Linked DNA regions of Homo sapiens: region 2 is linked to region 1. The links are contacts of gene promoters, found by promoter capture Hi-C in blood cells and fetal thymus (Javierre and others, 2016). All regions are on one chromosome and are shown on one strand. Each heading gives the region's core, a stretch centred on a gene start or on the middle of the fragment in contact. The rest is flanking DNA. Distances are from core to core; before and after follow the strand shown.

The links. Contacts are between HindIII fragments. The CHiCAGO score rates a contact against its expected background, and 5 or more counts as called.
Region 2: a fragment that was not itself captured here is called in contact with the fragment with the promoter of ARMC2-AS1 in region 1 in 1 of 17 cell types (megakaryocytes); the score reaches 6.9 in megakaryocytes.

What each region holds. Positions count from the first base shown.
Region 1 is chr6:108,919,628-108,927,363 of GRCh38, reverse strand. It overlaps ARMC2-AS1 (ARMC2 antisense RNA 1), which reads left to right and starts at 3,261. Exons shown (of 3, transcript NR_104137.1): 1 at 3,261-3,303; 2 at 4,320-4,389. All of the region lies in intron 10 of ARMC2 (armadillo repeat containing 2), which reads right to left. RefSeq lists an enhancer at 5,919-6,829. The HindIII fragment of the contact is 2,206 bases long and covers 1,816-4,021 here.
Region 2 is chr6:109,061,589-109,069,324 of GRCh38, reverse strand. The region is part of intron 1 of SESN1 (sestrin 1); the gene reads left to right. Among named protein-coding and RNA genes, the nearest start is that of SESN1, 29 kb to the left of the region's middle. The HindIII fragment of the contact is 524 bases long and covers 2,527-3,050 here.

The DNA.
Region 1 (7,736 bases), core at 2,012-4,511:
TTTAACCTCCCAGAGCTCATTTTTCTCATTCAATAAAGTAGAGGTGATGATACTTCCCTAGCAGTTGTGAGGATTCTATGAGATAAGATGTGTGAATGGCATCGCTGCCATCATCTCTTCCTAGTGAAGTGCCCAGGGGCAGCCACTCCTTCCTCCACTTCCCCATTTCCTCATCTGTGAAAAGCAGATGACAAGCACTGCTCACCTCTCGGGGGGTTGTGTGTAGCAAATGGAAACATGTAGCACTGTTTTTATTACTTATCTAATACTGTAAAGCATCATGTAAACATAAAGCATCCTTACAGCCATAGTATATAAACTTTTAAAAACAATTTTTAAGATGACATGATTAGTTTTTCCTTATAACAACAGCAACAAAAAGATACATTAAAATATAACTGACTACCCTGAAAACACAGAAAATGTAAAAAAAAAAAAAAAAGCTTCAAATAAATGTGTACATGTCTTTTGTAATCAATTCAATTATACAATGATTCTGTAAATTCTTCCCTGAAAGTTTCAGTATCCCAAACATTGGAAGTGAAACAAACTACTTGAGTATTCCACTTAACTCCATAGATCTAAACAATGTCACAATGTAGTCTTCTTCTAAGCTAAGGAATGGACTTTTTTTTTTTGGAGACAGAGTCTCTCTTTGTCATCCAGGCTGGAGTTCAGTGACAGGATCTCAGCTCACTGCAACCTCTGCCTCCCCCATTCAAGCAATTGTCGTGCCTCAGCCTCCCAAGTAGCTGGAATTACAGGTGCGTGCCACCATGTCTGGCTAATTTTTGTATTTTTAGTAAAGACAAGGTTTCGCCATGTTGGCCAGGCTGGTCTCAAACTCCTGGCCTCAAGTGATCCAAGCACCTCAGCCTCCCAAAGCGCTGGGATTACAGGGGTGAGCCACTGCGCCCAGCCAGGAATAGATCTTTTGTGAAGACTAATGAACCATTCTAGGAATTCCATTGCTGTCATAAAATGGAAAATTCTCATCATCTGACCCCGTTTCCACCTGTTCTCCTGAGACAGCCCAGGCACCGGAGCACTACTGGTTTACATTAATTCAGAGGATGCCTCAAAACTCTCTTCCATGGAGACGGAAGAGTACAGATGCCTGTGTAACTCCCATGCAGACAGACATCATGGGAAACCATGAAATACCCATTCCAGTCACTGCACACCAACAGTTCCTTTTCCCTGGTCCCCAAGGCATCAAAGATGGGACATCCCAATCCATAGTCATCTTCACGCTCCCCACATCTAAGCTCTGGCAAGGGACATTGCCAGCAGAAAGGACCATAGTTTCCTTAGGAGCTTTTATTTTCTTGTTTCAATCTCAATTTTTTCTCCTTCTCAGGCCTTATTCTCACCTCATTAGCAAAAGTTTAGACAGCTCAAGTTTCTTCTGCCCCACATACATAACTTTCATAAATAACCCAAGTCAGGAGAGAAAGCCCACATTTATATGTGACATGTCATTTGATTGAAATTCCTACCCATTTACTGCACGTGATACACACAGTTGAGTAATATACAATACCTCACGTATTTCCAAATTTGTCATTTGTGGTGCTGGTAGAAATAACATGCATGAAACATATACCATACATTTGAAAAATACACAGCAATAGCTCAATAGATGACACCATCAACCTAGTTGCTCAAGCAGAGATATCCCAGAATCCTGCCTTTCTGCTTTCTGTTACTCCAAGCCATATTGGCTTTTTGTCCATAGCTCCCAGGATAATATTCAGTTCCCTGACCATGGTCTACAAGGCTCAACAGATCTGTTCCTTCTCAACCCGTCAAGCTTCATCTCATACCATATATGCCCCCATAAACTCTACTTAATGCTAGGTTATTTAATATTATGGTTTACTATCTGTCTACTCCTCCAGACTAGACGCTTCAGTGAAGGCATAAACCTTGTTCATCCTTTTCACCATTGTACATCCAGCTCCAAGTCCAGTGCCTGGTACATGGTGGGCGCTCAATAGGCATTTATTAATGGAATGAATGAAGGGGTGGACATCTACAAAGGAAAGACTGGGATATCAGAACACCATGGGCTAAGCAGACAATATCTCTGAGGTAGACAGATTTTAAGATTTTTTTTGAAAGCAGAGGAGTAAAAAATAATGGATGAAAGAAAAATGGACTCTGTAGTTACCCAGCTCAGGCTAACTTGTCTATGTTTAAGACCTTTCAGAGGCCGATCAGTCGCTTCCTCTTCCGTGTTAACAAAGCATCCTGTTCCTGCCTCTATAACCCCCATCCATCACAGAATAAAAAATAACGGATGAAAGAAAAATGAACTCTCTGGAAGGGGACCAGCCTCTGTGTATTTGTTCTCTAGCCTATCTCATTTCTGACAGCAGCTCCTTCCCAAGCTCCTAAACTCCCGGGCCCCACCCCTTTCCCCACCTGACTGGTCACACGTTCACCCCTTCTCTCCATCACCAGCGTCACTGGTTCAGTTTAAGCTCACTTCATCTCTTACCCAAACTCTACAGCCCCCTGGATGGGCTCCTTCCACAGTTTGCCCCCATAGCTGCTCACTGCTGCCAGAGGGGGCATCTCAAAGCTCCGCCTTCCCTGCTCAAAGGCCTCCTGCGACTTCCGGCCCAGCCAGTAGCACCCATAGCCTAAAGGTTCCTCAGTCTCTGAAGTGTGGTTTATCCCTCCAAACTCATCTCCTTTGCCTCGGCACCACCCTGGCCATCTTTCAGACTCTGCACCACATGAGGTCCTCAACCCTTCATGACGCCATGCCTTTGAATAGGCGGCTTCCTCCGCCCAGAGTGCCCTCGATTACACTTTGCCACCCCTTCTCCCCCGGGCCATCTCCTGCTCATTTTTTTCTTTTTTCTTTTTCGAGACAGAGTCTCGATCTCGGCTCACTGCAACCTCCGCCTCCTGGGTTCAAGCGATTCTCCTGCCTCAGCCTCCCGAGTAGCTGGGATTACAGGCAAGCACCACCACACCCTGCTAATTTTTGTATTTTTAGTAGAGACAGGGTTTTGCCATGTTGGCCAGGCTGGTCTTGAACTCCTGACCTCAAGTGATCCGCCCGCCTCGGCCTCCCAAAGTGCTGGGATCACAGACATGATCCACCGCGCCCGGCCTCCTGCTCATTTTTCAAAACCCAGCTCAAGATAACTTCTCTGTGAAGTCCTTTCCGAGGCTGATCAGTCACTTCCTCTCCTTCCTCTTCCGTGTTACCAAAGCATCCTGTTCCTGCCTCTACAACCCCCATCACAGAAGCATTGTCACTTGTCTTCAGGCATCTTCTCTCCCATGGTGAGCTCCTCTAGGGTACAAACCACTTCTTATTCCTCTTTCTATTCAGAGGACAACAAATGTGCTCATAAAAAGCTCTTAAATGTTCAGCTACTGGAGGGCTGGAAGAGTGAATGAGAAGGGGAAGGAGGAGGGGAATGAGGAGGGGGAAGAAAGAAAGAAGGGACAGGAGCGACAAAAGAGAGGTTTTTCCCTTTAAGACACCTCTGGCAAGAAAGTGCGGGAGCTTAGCAGAGGCCTGGGTGAACCAGGGCCTAAAACCCTGAGGGAGAAGGATCAGGAAAAGGCCACCACGCAGATGCAGCTCTGAAGGCCCTGTATCTTGAGAGACTTGTCACCAACCTCTGAGAGCCACCAATCTCACTGTGGGATGATGGTGGGGCCCTGAATGCTCAGACCAGTGGCCTTTTCTGGAAAAAATGCAGGAAAAAAAAAAAAAAAAGGGTGTGGGGAGGAGAGTCTAGCTAAATCATGTGGTCACAGTAAAGGCAAGTTCCAAGTCAACCCATTTAACTGAATTTTGCTCCTACTTTTGAATTCATTATATACAAGTGAAAATTAAAAAAAAGAAAACAAGAACTCTCAGTTGAACAGAGATAAATCTGTGAAAATTATCAATGAGTTCTGTGCTCTACAGCAGGGTCTTTATTTCCCACCCTCAAGAAAAGCCCACCCACTGGGCCCTCCCCCAAAGCAGGAGTTAACCAAAGCCCAAGCTTCATGCTTGGAGGTGTGCATCCATTTCTTTCTTAACTTTCTATTCTAATTTATATTATCTATAAATGCACAAACTTAAACACACATTTTTCTTTTTTATTGTATATAATCTTTCAAACCACCTCAAATCCCTTACTTAAAAAAAGTCTTGTTTAGTCTCTAAAGGACTTAGTAGAGAAATTCTCAACCTCTTAAGTAGCATTTCACCAAGAAATAGCACACTGAAAAACACAAGTTTTAATTCCTATCTTTTCCCCCATCTCTTAACTTGCAATCCTGTGGGACTTGCAATCCTGAAGGCAGCCCATAGGAAGAAGAAAAAAGAGAAGAAAATGACACTGATAATCCACAAAGAGGACTAATACAAATGTAAGTTTCCTTGCTTATTAGCAATTGTTAGGTGATGTTTAGGACAAAAGGGGACCTAAGGTTTTGGTAAATACCCAGGAAGAAACATTCCATTTTGCTTCTGGTTACCAATCTACTACTGAAAAATGACTGAGCTACACTTGACAACTTTCTGGTGCTCACTTTTCTGAGAAAGCTTCTTTCCATGTTCCCCAAATTATTTGATCATAACAGGTACCACCCTCAGTCAGGGAAAACACCTGGAGACTTGGCAAAGCTACCCAGCTCACATTGAATTATGTAAGCCTCAAAGTTTTCATTGTGTAGTCAGTATTGGGAGACCCATTTTAAAGGGAAAAAATGTACTAAGAAGAAATTAGATCATTTATAAATGCACAACTACATTTTAATACAGTAAAATGAGAACTCAAAAGCTTTAGCTTCTGTTTTTTTCAAGTTGACTATAGGTACTTAATTATCAATTTCAAATTGTGTTTTCAACTATTAATTAATTGAGAAACCTTAGCAAACACAGGAAATATTTGTCTTAAAATATGGGGCTGGGCCCAGTGGCTCAGGTCTGTAATCCCAGCGACTCTCATGGCTGAGGCAGGAGAATCGCCTGAACCCCAGAGGCTGAGGCTGCAGTGAGCCATGCCTTTGATCGCACCACCGCACTCCAACCTGAGTGACACAGTGAGACTCTGTCTCAAGAAAAAAAAAAGGGTGGGGGGGCCCTCCGGACTTGGATCACTGGACTTGAGGACACAACACAGGCCCAGCAGCTGTGGTCTCATTCCTGCGTTCTCTACTGCAGTGGGTGGGTGCGAGGTGGGGCAACCTCCACACACACTGATCATGTCCAGAGTGGACGGCCCTCTCTTTTCCCTCTGTGCCCTTCCTCCATCAGAGTACTCTGTCCTCAAGGAACTCACCAGATTCTGCTCTAGAAGGCAACCTGCCATCAGAGCTGCCCCAGATCAGAGGAGCTTGTGACTCATTGAAGCTCAGAAGTCTATCAGCTCCCAGGTAGGCTAGTGCCCTGGCCTCAGTTTCTTGGTCTATTGCCTCCCTACTCTATTTGGCACTGGTCTCTAAAAGCATTTTGCAATCATCTGGAATATCCACAACTGAAATCCCTCGAGCTTTGTCTCAACTTAACTGCCAACTGCAAAATTGTTGACTTCCCACTGATGATGTAAAAGAATAAACGCAGCCGCCAGAGACCACAAACAGTGTGAAATGATTTATGACTAAAGCCACTATTTTCCAACCTCAGCTAAGCCATCTCCCTCTATTAATAAAGGCAGATTCATTTCTTTGAACTTGTGCCCAATTGAGGCCACATATATGCCAAAACCAGAGCCTGTGTGGTAACCCAAGAAGTTTCATATTGTCTCATATATGATTTGTACAGTTCTGGCTGAGACAAAAGAAACCAATGACAAGATGCTGCTAGACATGTGAAATCACTGGTAACATGCATGTCTAAGCTTTTCTTGGAATTTATTAAGATATATGCATATGAAGGTAATATTAATTAATAATCCTTGATAACACTCGGTGCCTGGCTACACAGGCCTACTTGGCACATCCCTACCATGGGTGTCCGACTTAGCAGGAAATGCTTCTGTCCTCCTTAAACCTCCAATGTCCTACTTTGAGACTCTATTTAACATTTGGCTCTGTTTATTGTTGTTTCTCCATTTACTGCCTCTATGCCAGTTACTTCACTAAAATGAGTAGGTAGCTGATTCTTCTAGTTGTGGCTATGTATGTATTCAATACAGGAGAAATTTTGAATATCATACAAACAATCTAGAATGGCAATGCAGCAAAACAAGAAAAAGGAGTCTGAAAAAGATAGTGCATTAAGAACTACCAAGCAATGAAACCACTATTCACAATTATATGCTAAAGCTAGTGACATTTCCTTACTGCCACAACTAATAGATCTACAGTGAAGAGAGGAGGCTGAGCAGACAGAGCACTAATTGAGAGCAAATGGCTCTCCTCAGACACAGTAGGAGCCTCATTTCCACCCTTGATCTGTCTTTTAGCATAACACTCCTGGCCATCCACCGCCCTCACTTCCTGATTGGTGAGCTTGGGACAGGAATCAGACCCTCCCAGTCCAGCCCCTACCTGGTCCCTCTCTTCCCTTCCTCTTTTAGAAGTGAGCTGCCATCAGAACAAAGGTGTTCTGCTCCTCCAGGGACAGACATGGTCTGTGACTGGGTGGGTAAATCTAATTCTAGGACTCAGGATTAGAAAGCATGCCTGCCTCAGCTATCAGCCACATCCTCCAACCACGGTGATAACTTTATCCCCATCCCCAGCCTCCTTAGCCTCTTATTTCCAAGTAAAAAACCCAAGGCATTACATATTTAGGTTTCTGAGTCTTCTCAGATCTTCAGATCTGCTGTCCCTGGAAAATTGGAGGAGAACATGAGTTGCCTATAGACAGCTCCTTCCTAGGAAAGGGAAGAGAAGGGAAGAGGAAGAACCTGGGCCCCAAATGCCTACTCTCTCGTGGCAACTGGGCACGTGAGTGGTTAGTTATGCTGCTGGCAATTCTTTTATAGGAAGGAAGCCCCATAAGTAGAAAATAGCTGTCTCCTTCCCATTAACAAATACATCATTAAAAAAGTGGCGGCACGTGCCTGTAATCCCATCTACTTGGGAGGCTGAGGCAGGAGAACTGCTTGAACCCGGGAGGTGGAGGTTGCAGTGAGCTGAGATCATGCCACTGCACTCTGGCCTGGGCGACAGAGCAAGACTCCATCTCTAAAAACAAAAACAAAAACAAAACAAAACAAAATAAAAAATTAGCCAGTGTAGTGATCAATACCAAAGACTAACCCCTAAAATAGCTTCATCTAATCTCAAAAACAATATGCTAAGCAAAATAAACCAGATATAGTACTCTAGGTAACTATGGCATATCCATATCAATTCCTATTGATAATGTACAATAGTTATGTAAGATATCACCACTGGGAGGAGCTGGATGATGGGTACACAGGACATCTCGGTACTATTTTTGCAACATCTTGTGAATTTATACTTAGTTCAGAATAAAAGTTTAAAAAGGTGCCAGACACAAAAGGGTACATGCTGTATATTCCGTTTATATAAAGTTTTAGAACAGGCAGAGCTTATCTATGGTGAAAGAGATCAGAAAAATGGTTCCCTCTGGGAGGAGGGTAGAAGAATGAGGATTAATGAGAAGAGGTGGGAGGAAATTTCTGAGGTGACAGAAACCTTCTGTATCTTGATAAGGGTAGGGGCTACGTGGCTTTCTACTTTTGTCAAACTCATCAAACGTATAAGATCTAAGCATTTTATTGGATGTAGATTATACCTTA
Region 2 (7,736 bases), core at 1,539-4,038, 140 kb before region 1:
TTGTTTGTTTGTTTTATTTTACCCCTCTCTAGGAGGCTTGTTTTTCTTTTTTCCGCAACTTTTTTTTTAAACCTATCAAATAGTTCAAAAAATAGTATGGAAAATGCCATATACCCTTCACCTAGAGTCACGTATTGTTAACATTTTGCCACGATGGCCTTCTCTGTTTTTTTCTCTCCTTTTGCTCAACCTCTTGAAAGTTACAAACACTTCACCCCAAAATACTTTATCATGTTTTTCCTAAGAAGAAGGACATTCTGGGAACTTAAGATGCTTTCATTTATCTTTAGAGTTTGAAATTTCGGCTGGGCGCGGTGGCTCACACCTGTAATCCCAGCACTTTGGGAGGCCGAGGCAGGTGGATCACCTGAGGTCAGGAGTTCCAGACCAGCCTGGCCAACATGATGAAACCCCATCTCTACTAAAAATACAAAAAATTAGCTAGGCATGGTGGTAGGTGCCTGTAATCCCAGCTACTTGGGAGGCAGAGGCAGGAGAATTGCTTGAACCCAGGAGACGGAGGTTGCAGTGAGCCAGGATCGTACCACTGCACTTCAGCCTGGGCAATAAGAGTGAAGCTCTGCCTCAAAAAAAAAAAAAAAAGCCCAGGAAATTTCACTGGTGTATGTCAGAATATGTTTCTCCCCACTATGCTTGGGTCTTTTCAATATAAAGATTGAATCTCAAATTACTCTTCTATCCTCTCTTTTGTTACTTCTCCTCTATTATATCTCTTATGTCTGTCCTTTTTTGACCAATAGTTAAGTGTTAGACCTTCATCTTAACCTTTTTTCATATACCGTTTCTTTTTTGTCTTTTTACTTTATATCTTGGAGAGTTCCCTGAACTTATCTTCCAAATTACAAATTTGCCCTTCAGCCCAGTTCTATTATTCAGTTCTTCTATTGACATGTTTATTTAGCAGCCATGTTTTTAACTTTCAATAACTCTTTTGTATTCTCAGATTGTTACTTTCTCTGAGCAGCCAGTTCTTATATTATGAGTATTTTATTCTCTGATGATATCAATTAAATTTTTAATTAGTTTCTTTTTCTCCCTGCTGAATCAGCCAGGATCCTAGCAGAAAATGGATGGCACACTCAGCTGGGGTGACTAAAGAGAAAAAGGACTGTCTACAAAGGTGTATGCAGGGTTAAGAGAAACCAAGAAGGGATGATGGGCATTTTGAACTAGTGACATCTGGAAGTCACTGTCCCCCCCAAACTTCAGGGGCAAAGGTTGAGTGTAGTTACTGGAACTCAGTGAGGTCTGCAGCTATAAGAGAAGCCTGCCTGCCTAACAGGAACTGTGGCCTTCAATAGAGGAATATACCCACTTCTGCCTTCAGAATAAATACCCTGACCTTCTTCTCCCTGTCCTCCAATTTGTTAGTGCCTCTCTATCATAAACCAAACAGTAAGAGTACCGTAATGATACAGTCCATAGTGGTGAGCATTTTGAAGCACAAAACAGGGTAGAGTAGGGCAGATACATACTTTGCAGGGGCAAATAGAACATATCCAGCATACCTGTATTGTGTCTGTTTCATGCTATTTAGGAAGACATTTTGATGAGTGGATTGAGACTGTGAAAAGAATAGTACTTGGGGCTGATCTGGTAGGATAAGGCAGCAGCAAAAATAAATTGCTCTTGTGAATAGTCAAGGTGAGTGCAGTTGAGAGTCCTGAGGAAGTGTGTATAGGATTTGAGTACTCAAAACTAAGAGATGGAAGAGGAAAGACCGGAGAGAGGGAGAGGTAATAACACAAAGCTATAGCCATAGGAATGAGGCTCTGCCGATGAAATGGATCCCTTTGAAAAGCTTACATTCCTTTTTTGTTTTCTTTGAATTTGGAGGACAGTTATCTTACTTAGCGTTCAGTTTTAGGGAATTTTCTCTCCTATTTTTACTATCTTTTACCTCCAAAATGTCCATAAAAGACTTCTACCCTTGATGACTACACATTAATGATGATCTGTGGAGTGACAGCAGGGTGGGCACTGTGCAGGAGGGTGTTATGGGAGCTCAGGGAAGTTGGTCATGGTGTGGAGGACCTGCAGTGACAGTGATACAATCCCTTTGTGCCCAGATAGACTGGAGACCTACAGATAGGGAGGGGAAGTTGTGAGTGAGGAGGCATTGGGGTTCAAGCTGTTTTGTTGAACAGTGAGGGCTGGAGGATGGTGGGACATCCAGACTATAGGCTCTTGAAGTTATATACTCTTTTCCTCTTCAGAAAAGCAACCAGATTAAATTGTATTAGAATGAAAGGTGAAAAGCATACATTTTCAAAGTAGGCCTGTCTGAGGAAACATAATTGATTTTGCGAATATTGCACCAGAAGAACCAGGGCCAAGGAGATAATAAGATGATGGTGGCTTTTTGCCTTTTTCCTCCAGATCTGAGAGTTTCTATTGTATTCTGGCATCTGTTACTTCAACGTTTGCTGTACTGTAAGTCTTCATTGACACTTGACCCAGGCAAATCCATTTTTCTCTACATAGTCTCTCTCGAACTTTTAAGCTTAGCACTGTCTTTCACTATTGCAGCATGTTTCTTTTTGGGATGGTCATTATTTCTTCTCTTTTAAAAATAATATCCATTTATATCTGTTGGTTATTCAAGTGGTATGGCTGTGTCCACCATTTGAGTTATCTTCATGAGCCTCTTTTTTCTACTTCGTATCACACATACTTGAAAACAGAAGACTATTGTTGACTTGTTTAGTTTCATCTTATTTTTATTAAAATTTAAATGCCATCACATGATCTCAGTGCTATGATACATGTCTGGATCTTGGTTACTTGAATTGGTCGATATTTCTTAAGGGAAATAGAGTAGACCCACATATAATTCCCACCTACTTTCTTTTTCATTTTATCCCAGAGGGATCCACATTCCTTCCTTACCCTAATTCACTGCAGGGAGACAAAGAGAAATAATAACCCTCTTCCCCTACTGCTCCAGTAAAAATTACAACAAATCATAGTGACTTTAAAAAAAAAAAAAAAGAAACAGCAAACCTTCGTGATTTAAAAATAAGCAAGCTTATGTTTTGCTTCTTCCCCTGTGAGGAAGCTACAGCAAAGGCTCTAGGGAAAGAGTTTGGTAGAAATCACAAATTTGTGTATTTTTGTTTTAGTTTACAGACATGTTATTAAGCCAAAAATCAAGATACAGGATCTAACAAAGGCTTTTTATTACCTGTCAATATATGTATTAGTTGGAAATAATTAATTTGAATGTAGAACCAGGAACTATTGTATTCGTTTAATAATTTTACCTTTCACTGAGTATGGATAGTAGTGATTCTTTTATCCCTCTTAAACTTGCCTCTTTTAAGATTTAAGGGATGATCTTATTCTTAGTTTAGGCTCTTATCTTACATTAGACGAAAAGGAGTTCTAACTTTGTAAAATACCTTCAATGTATTGGTTTTAGATTCTAATTATAGATAGTATCTTCTATTATAATAGAGAAAAGGTATAGTAATAATTTCAATATTTTAAAGTAATATTAAAGTAATTTAATATTTTAAAGAAAATAATTTTTTTGTATTTTAATAAGGGGTCAGTATTTTAAGACACCAAGAATATTACAATCACATATGTCAGAAAGAGAAATGTGTGATCCAGGGTCTTTTCTACACCTGAACACACATTTATCTTATTTTTTGGCCTGCAACCTCGTCCTTATTACAATGGCCCAATATCTTGCTTTTCTTTGTTTTTTCATCCTCTAGTCATATTGTTACACATTTGAGGCTATTTAAGAAAGAAAAAGGACTCTGCTTCAGAGTTTTCTCCCTATGTCTTCATGATCAAATAGAAAGGAATGTGTGAGAGGGACAATCAGGTGATTTTTAAAACCAAGTGAATTTATATTTTAGTTATTTCAATCACAGTGAATTGTTACTTCTTTTAATATTGGAAAAATAAAAAGAAACAAATCTCTGAAAATTGAATGAGTAAATGAAAACAGGAAAAGAAGAAACTAAATAACAATAGTTATTCTTATAAATCTGAGAAGCATCATAATAATAGTATTAGGGGAAAATAATTTTTTTTATAAACCTATAAGAACACTGATAGTGATAATGATTCTCAGACATGCCTAAAGTTAAGGAAAATATATGCTTATAAAGGTTATGATAATAGATGTGAAAATGGGAAATAATAGGAATAGAGAACTGAAAAGAGTTAATGGGCTATTAAATTCGGGAACTTAAGGAGAGAGGGATTGGAAATAAGTGCAAAATTTTGCAACTCAAATAGCACAGTTTCTTATGTGACAGGTAACCTATGTTACATACTTGATGAGGAAAACAAGAGGACACAGTACTATTCTTGATAACTTTTTTAAATTGTCACAGTATGTAATATGAAGACATTTAGGCAACTAGAGGGTGTAGAAAGTAAAACAGAGGACTGGTTATTGTTGCTGTTGTTGCTGTTTTGCCTCTGTTACATATGTAGAGATTGCTAAATTGTTACTAGTTTATCACCACACAGATTTTGCCAACCTGAAAGTGTACTCTCAGCGATATAGACTTGTTTATACTTCATATACTCTATGCTTGCTATCCCTCCCTCCCTCCCTCCCTTCCTTCCTTCATCTCTCTCCCTCTCTCTCTCTCCCACCCACTCTCGGTCTTTCCCTTTCCCTCTCCCCCACCCCACCTCTCCTCTCCCCTCCCCTCCCCTCCCCTCCCCTCCCCTCCCCTCCCCTCCCCTCTCCTCTCCTCTCCTCTCCCCTCCTCTCTTCTCTTCTTTCATTTGATATTTTTTATGTCCCATGTTTTGATTTGGTGATTGATGATGAACTGTGGCTTTCAGATCTTCCTTTTGTTCTAAAGCACATACTGTCCTAAATCATTTTCTATTTTGGTGTTAATTAGTACATCATTGGGCAGAGTATTGTCTAGGTAGCTGAATCCATGATGCTTTGGAGCTAAATACACTATTTTCCATTATAGCCTGATATGTGGACTAGGTCACCTTTAGATTTATTGACTCTGAGCTAACTCTGGAGTCATCTATAAACCTTTATTTATCATCTTGGCATATAATCAGGAACATAAGGGTATAGCTGTTTGAGGATTTGAATGATCATATGGCCTGTAGGAAAAAAAGGGGGCAGTGGGGGAAATTCTAGAAGTTGACAGATATCAATCAAGCCAGTTTAGTGACAAGGCTAAATACTAGTTTACTAAGATTCTAAGACTATTTCATGATGATTTTACCGTTCATTGTTAATTTCCATGTCATGAATTTCAGTTCTTTAGATCCAAAATTGTATACATGGCTCAATTTTATTTTTTCTATTTAATGCAGCATTGATATGGGTAAAGTAAAAGGCTACAAGTTGGGGTAAAATAAATGAAAATCTAATTTTTTTTTTAGTTTTTTTTTGGCTTTTTTCTTTTTTTTTTAAAGGATAACTATTTTCAGACATTTTTGGGTACCAGACAACTTGTAGAAGGTATTTTTCTTCTTTTGAAATGTGTTAACTTCACAATATGTAATGAATAGCTTTATATGTAAATGGTTAAAACTCCCCTGGTGACGAATTTATAGATTGAGTAGAAAGACAATCAGATTAAAAGATGGTAGCACAAGACGTATCTGAATCAAAGTATCATCAAAAGCTTAAAAGCAAAAGGATCAGCAAGGGTACATAGGAAAATGCAAAGGGGAAACAGCAGTAATCACAGCATTAATCTCAGAGAAGACCTCAGGATTCAAGGATTAGGCAAAACTCATCTTCTGGCAAGATAGTGAGTTCTCAGTTGGGATGAGCAGACAGTTCCCCAACTGTGGTTCCCTAAATTTTGATTGCTCTGTCTCCATGAACATTTCCACATCATCTCTATCCCCTCTGGTCCCATCACTGTAATTGAGTTGCCTACTGGGTATGGCTCATGGAAAATTTGGGGCAAGTCATTGGTCTATGCAGCCTACTGGCCTTCCCCCCAACCCCCTGCCCAAGGGCAGGCTTCCTCTCTTTTCTCGTGTGCTCCCTCCCACCACCCCACCCTCCTACTTATTTCTCTTCAAACAGTTATACCTGAGCCTATGTTGGCAGTTTCCCTCTCCTCTTCTATCTAATATAGAGGTGTGTCTCTACCCTGGCTGACAGACATATTCATGCTCCCCTCTCAGGCCAGAAGCCTGCCCGACCTCTACAGGGTGACTCCTGGGACTCAGACAGGGCAGTGACCAAGGGCTGTTTCTCTCTGCAGGAAGGCTCTATAACCCATTCGTTTGGTATACTTTCAGACATCTCGTTCTCCCTGAGACCAACTATGAAGTGTGTTTCAAACTTTGCAGATGCAGTTGTATATTTACCTTCATACAGCAGTCCCACCTTATCTATGGTTTCACTTTCCTCACTTTCACTTACCAACAGTACAGTATAATGAGGTATTTTGAGAGAGAGAGAGACCACATTCACATAATCTTTATTATAGTATATTACTATAATTATTCTATTTTATTGTTACTTAGTGTTTTTAATTTCTTACTGGGCCTAATTTCTAAATTAAACTTTATCATAGCTATGTATGTATAAGAGAAAACATAGTACATAGGGGGTTCAGTACTACCTGTGGTTTCACACATTTATGGGGGTCTTGGAATGTGTACCCCACAGATACCAGGGGACTACTGTGTATGAATTCATGTTTTAATACAGCTATTTCTGTGTCTCTCTCTTTCACACGCACACACCATCTTAAAATTTTTATATATGACTTCTCATAGTGTTTTCGTTAAAGATAAATGTTTTTACATGGCCTCACATAATTTATCATCCAAACTGGGACACTGTGAGAGAAGGGATTACACCAAGTCAACAGGAGTAAGCCAAATTGAATAGTCAGCCTCCCTGCAAGGCCCTCCATGGTGTGGCTGCTGACCTTGGCAGCCTCATCTTGCAATGTGCTCTTCCTCGCTCTGTGCGCCTCAGACTCACAGGCCCTCTTTGCTTACTGCTTACTTTTGCTCAAAAGCCTTTGACATGCTTTCTCCTCTACCTGGACAGAGCTTTGCCTCTGCTCTCTTATTCACCTAATAAACTCCCCTTGTTCATTTTTCGGATTTCTCTCAATTCTGACTTCCTCAAGAATGCCTTCCAGGCTGGGCATGGTGGCTCATGCCTGTAGTCCCAGCTACCTGGGAGGCTGAGGCAGGAGGATGGCTTGAGACTAGGAGTTCAAGGCTGCAGTGAGCCGTGACTGTACCACTGCACTCCAATCTGGGTGACAGAGTAAGACCCTGTCTCTTAAAAAGAAAGCCTTCTAGGGCTTCCCTAACTTGATCCATTCTCTCTCATTATTCCTCAGAGCACCATCTTTTATCACGTTTAGATAATTCTTGGATTAATTTCTGTCCTCCACTAAAGTGAGGTTTAATGTGGGTAGAGACCATATCAGGGTTTTCTCATCATTTATTTTTTCATCACTCATTAGGCACATAGTAAAAACTAAATAAATATTTGTTAGATTAATTAATTTTTTTTTTGAGACAGGATCTCGCTCTGTTGCCCAGGCTGGAGTGCAGTGGTGCGCTCTCAGTTCACTGCAACCTCTGCCTCCTGGGCTCAAGCCATCTTCCCACCTCAGCCTCCTGAGGAGCTAAGACTACAGGTGTGTGCTACCATGCCTGGCTAATTTTTGTATTTTTAGTAGAGACAGGGTTTCACCATGTTGCCCAGGCTGGTCGCGAACTCCTGACCT